2 separate regions of the Homo sapiens genome follow, and region 1 is linked to region 2. The links are contacts of gene promoters, found by promoter capture Hi-C in blood cells and fetal thymus (Javierre and others, 2016). All regions are on one chromosome and are shown on one strand. The core of a region is centred on a gene start or on the middle of the fragment in contact, and the rest is flanking DNA. Distances in the headings are between cores, read along the strand shown. Region 1 has its middle 30 kb from the start of TRO. Region 2 holds the start of ALAS2 (5'-aminolevulinate synthase 2).

What was found. Contacts are between HindIII fragments. The CHiCAGO score rates a contact against its expected background, and 5 or more counts as called.
Region 1: a contact is called between a fragment that was not itself captured here and the fragment with the promoter of ALAS2 in region 2, in 1 of 17 cell types (M2 macrophages). The highest score is 6.9, in M2 macrophages.

Annotation. Positions count from the first base shown.
Region 1 is chrX:54,889,175-54,891,874 of GRCh38, reverse strand. No RefSeq gene overlaps it. Among named protein-coding and RNA genes, the nearest start is that of TRO, 30 kb to the left of the region's middle. The HindIII fragment of the contact is 2,103 bases long and covers 390-2,492 here.
Region 2 is chrX:55,029,655-55,032,354 of GRCh38, reverse strand. It overlaps ALAS2 (5'-aminolevulinate synthase 2), which reads left to right and starts at 1,378. Exons shown (of 11, transcript NM_000032.5): 1 at 1,378-1,413. It also overlaps a transcript of PAGE2B not described here. RefSeq lists an enhancer at 1,373-2,700. The HindIII fragment of the contact is 13,021 bases long and covers 1-2,700 here.

The sequences.
Region 1 (2,700 bases), core at 192-2,691, 140 kb after region 2:
TAATTGTGAATGGGATTGCGTTCCTGATTTAGCTGTTGGCTAGTTAACCAGCCATACCAATGCCTCAGAACACAAGAATAAGACTCCTACTGCCACCTCGTGGCAGTATACTCTAAAGGGGAGGCTCTCATTAGTTTGGAGTGAAGAAATGCTTTCTCCCTCTATGCCATGCTGTATCATGTCCCTATGTATGTTGTATACTTCTACACATGCCATCTCTTCTAACCAGAACCATCCTTCCCTGAACCTTGTCGATTTAATGGATATTAGGTCTCATTTGTGTGTTATCTCAACCCAAGTAACCATTTCTCTATGAAGCCTTTTCTGTCTCTCCATCTTTCTCAACACAAGTAGAAATAACCTCTTCTTTCTTTGTGTTCCAATAAGCTTAAGTTCCAATAATCCACGTACAGATGTCTACGTGTTACCTAGACCAATTTACTACTGATTTTTTTTCACATACGTCCCTTCTCAAAAACTTAGCTGATCAAACATATGAATCTACGTGTGACTAATCTTAGGGTCTCCAAACTACAAAGCAAAAGGCAGACACAGATTATGAAAGCTCAATGATTGCTCTATGGCATGTTTTATGGATCTATGGAAAAAATGTGTGTATATATTTACATATGTGTGTGTAGATTTACCTATACACACATATATACTCAATTTGTAAATGTTTTAGTCAATTATTTTATGTCATTAATAATTTTTTTACTAGACATGCTCTATTTTGAAATAAGAATTAAAATTGTTAGTATTCCTTTCTTTTTTTTTTTTAACTTTAAGTGCCGGGATACATGTGCAGAACCTGCAGGTTTGTTACATAGGTATACGTGTGCCATGATGGTTTCCTGCACCTATTAACCAGTCATCGAGGTTCCCTCCCCTCGCCTCCCACCCACCAATAGGCCCTGGTGAGTGTTGTTCCCCTTCCTGAGTCCATGTGTTCTCATTGTTCAACTCCCATTTATGAGAGAGAACATAAGGAATTTGGTTTTCTCTTCCTGTGTTGGTTTGCTGAGAATGACGGCTTCCAGCTTCATCCATGTCCCTGCAAAGGACATAATCTCATTTCTTTTTATGGCTGCATAGTATTCCATGGTGTATATGTGGCACATTTTCTTTATACAGTCTATCATTGATGGGCATTTGGGTTGGTTCCAAGCCATTGATTTTTTGAAGGGTTTTTCATGTCTCTCTCTCCTTCAGTTCTGCTCTGATCTTAGTTATTTCTTGTCTTCTGCTAGCTTTGGATTTGTTTGCTCTTGCTCCTCTAGTTCTTTTAGTTGTGATGTTAGGATTTTGATTTGAGATCTTTCGAGCTTTCTGATGTGGGCATTTAGTGCTTTAAATTTCCCTCTTAACACTGCTTTAGCTTCATCCCACAGATTCTGGTATGTTGTCTCTTTGTTCTCAATGGTTTCAAAGAACTTCGTTATTTCTGCATTAATTTCATTATTTACCCAGGAGTCATTCAGAAGCAGGTTGTTCAATTTTCATGTAGTTGTGCGGTTTTGAGTGAATTTCTTAATCTGAGTTCTAATTTGATTGCACTGTGGTCTGAGAGACAGTGTGTTATTATTTCAGTTCTTTTGCAATTGTTGAGGAGTGTTTTTCTTTCAATTATGTGGTTGATTTTAGAATAAGTGCCATGTGGCACTGAAAAGAATGTATATTCTGTTAATTTGGGGTGGAGAATTCTGTAGATATCTATTAGGTCCACTTGATTCAGAGCTGAGTTCATGTCCTGGATATCTTTGTTAATTTTCTGTCTTGTTGATCTGTCTAATATTGACAGTGGGGTGTTAGTCTCCCACTATTATTGTGTGTGAGTCTAAGTCTCTTTGTAGATCTCTAAGAACTTGTTTTATTAATCTTGGTGCTCCTGTATTGGGTGGATATATATTTAGGATAATTAGCTTTTTTTGTTGAATTGACCCCTTTACCATTATGTAATGCCCTTCTCTTTTTTTATCTTTGTTGGTTTCAAGTTTGTTTTATCAGAGACTAGGATTGCAACCCCTGCTTTTTTTTTATTTCCATTTGCTTGGTAAATTTTCCTCCATTCCTTTATTTTGAGCCTATGTGTGTCTTTGCACATCTCCTGAATACAGCACATTGATGGGTCTTGACTCTTTATCCAATTTGCCAATCTGTGTCTTTTAATTGGGGCTTTTAGCTCATGTAAATTTAAGGTTAATATTGTTATGTGTGAGTTTGATCCTGTCATCTTGATGCTATATGGTTATTTTGCACACTAATTGATGCAGTTTCTTCATAGTGTCGTTGGTCTTTATATTTTGGTGTGTTTATTGCTTCTCAGCCTTTTGGCTAAGATCAAGTGTATATTTTGGTGTTTTTTCGCAGTGGCTGGTACTGGTTTTTCCTTTCCATATTTAGTGCTCTTGCAAGGCAGGCCTGGTGGTGATGAAATCCCTCAGTATTTGCTTGTCTGAAAGGGATCCTATTTCTCCTTCACTTATGAAGCTTAGTTTGGCTGGATATGAAATTCTGGGTTGAAAATTCTTTTCTTTAAGAATATTGAATATTGCCCACCCCTCTCTTCTGGCTTGCAGGGTTTCTGCTGAGAGGTCTGCTGTTAGTCTGATCAGCTTCCCTTTGTAAGTGACCTGGACTTTCTCTCTGGCTGCCCTTAATATTTTTTCCTTCATTTCAACCTTGGAGAATTGATTATTA
Region 2 (2,700 bases), core at 129-2,628:
CCATTTTTAGTGCCTATAAGATTAACAAATATTTTAAAAATTGAAAATAACAAATGGTATTGGTGAGTTTGTGAGAAAATAGATACACATTTACTCTTATACACCACTGGGTGGGGAGGGGTGTATAACACATGTATAGGACAAATTGGCAGTATCAAAAACTTTAAATGTCTATTACCTTTAGATCCAGGAATGCTTATATTTTAGGATGCCACCCTCTAAAAAAATGCTCTCACAAATGCCAAAAGATGTTCATTGCAACATTAATCATAATGGAGGGGGGAAAATCCTTGGGAATAACCTAAATTTATATCAATAAGGGAGTGTTTAAATAAATTACAGTGCATTCAGATTTTGTAACCTCCATGGTATATTGGCATATGGTTGAATGAAAAACAAACAAAAAAAAGAAATTGCAAATCAATATGTAGACTATGGTCTTATTTATGTAAATATAATATTAATGATGACAATCTGCTCTAAAGATGAAATTGTCTGGTTATAACATGGTCCTGCTGCCTTAGGATTGATAAGGGAAGGGGAAAAAGAGAGTGACAAAAGGGGAAGAAAATGAAAAAGGGAGGAGAAGGTAATAGAAAAGATAAGACAGAGAACTTCACATTTTTAATTGTATATTATGAGAGGAAGAGAAGAGTGTGGGTTCTGTAACTACATTGCCTAGGTTCATAGGCGGGCTCTGTACTTTCTAGTTGGGTAATTATCAACAAGTTACCTCACCTCTCTGAGCCTCAGTTTCTTCATCTGTAACATAGGGATAATAGTACCTATCTTTTAAGGTCCTTATGTGGCTAAATTAATTCATGTAAAGCACTTAGTGAAGGGTCTGGTGCATTGTAAGCACTCAGTCAACAGTAGGTGTTATTTATTTGGGCCAGGCACTGTGGTATGCGTTTTCCATACATGATATTACCAAATTGTTACAACAACCGGGGATCTAGTCTGTGGAAGCTGACTGTTTGAGCTCATAAGCACAACACTGTATTCTAGGTCTGACTCCAGAGCCCTCCCAACTTGTGCCACAGTCACTTCTGGGTTTTATTGCCCTCCTTTTATAGTTGAGGAGATCTATAGTCAGAGAGGTGGTTTTGCTCAAGGTATCCCAGCTCTATGTGGATGGTCTGATTCCAAAGCCCAAATGAGCTAATTTTACTGTCCTATAGAGAGAAGAAAATAGGGAAGAGCCAGAGCTGGGGGAGGGGGTACACTAGAGGGAGGGGCTACTTTGGGTTTTATCTCTAGCAAGGAAGGGACTGAGATACCTTTGGGGCCAATGCAGGGCCAGGCCGGCAGAAGGCAGGGTGGGTGGGGCTGAGTCAGAGGAGAAGGGATAAATGCCAGGTCCTAACCCAAGTACCCACCTGTCATTCGTTCGTCCTCAGTGCAGGGCAACAGGTAAGAGCTGCTTTCAGCCTGGCACCCTATCTCTGGTCTGCCAGCTGGTCTCTCAGGGCTGTACACACTGACTCTCTGGTCTGAGTAGATCTGACTTTTTCCTTTGTTTGTTTCTTAGAATCTGTCTCTTTTTCATTTTCTTTTTATCTCCCATGTCTCTTTCTGTCTTTCCTCATTTTCAGCTTTTTTCTCTCTTTTTCCCTTCGTTACTTTCTTTTGTTAGTTTTCAAGATCATTCATTTCATTTCATCATTCTCTGACACTCTTGCTTTCTCTTATTTTTCCCTCTGAATTCTAACTATCTTTTTCTCTAAATTTCTTTCTCTCCCCCTTTTTGTCTCTTTCCTCGGCTTTGTATCTCTCCGTCTCTGTGTTTCTGTCTCTCTCTTCCTCTCTATCAAGAACGATGGCTTAATATTTCTTCCTGCAATTCCCCATTCCTCTCTCCCTTTGACTCCCTCTACCTGCTGGGCTGACAGCAGAGCTCAGTGGGTCAGAGCCCATGGGGAGCCTAGGGGTGGGGGAAGAGCTAGGGAGGGAAACTAAGAGGATGTGGGGGTGATGGGAATGATGAATTGGGTAAGGAGAGATTTGGGGAATTGAGAGATGAATAATTAGCAGAAATAAGTGAAGAAAGTGGAAGAGGAATGTAGTGTCACTATACAGAAAGTAAACAGATTTCTATTCTCATCCTAATTCACTGTGAGACCCTAGGCAAGTCATTCACTCTCTGAAAAAAAGGCTTGGCCTGTAATTTCCACCACCCTTTCTAGTTTTGATTTTGTGATCTTCTAAATTTTCCTGTTTCTAAGAATTTCTGATTCTCTGATTACAGTTATCTAAAGTTCTGTATGATTCTTTCATGGTGGGAAAGGGGTACTAGGAAGAGAAGTAAGGCCTGATGTTTCCAACTCCTGAAGAGAAATTACCACTTCCCTTCCAGACCTAATTGACTTTTGCAAAGCAGGCCACAAAAGGGGTGGGGGGGTGGGGGACAAGGAATGCTGCAATGAGTGTTTTCTGGCTGTCTGCTGGGGTAGAGTTGCAGTTGGCCCTTTTCACCTCTGGGAGTACAGATTGGGTGCTGACACAAGAGAGGATTTTAAAGTCGTAGGGAAAAACTTTCAGTAATGATCTGTTACTTGGTCTCAAATTTCACCATCATCTCTTTGGTTAAAAGTATTGTTTTAAGAAGATGCCTGGCAAGCATTATCACACATTAGGTACATAAGTTATTGAATGGTAGAGTAAATGAATATTCAACAGTACCTGAAATTCCACTGTAGT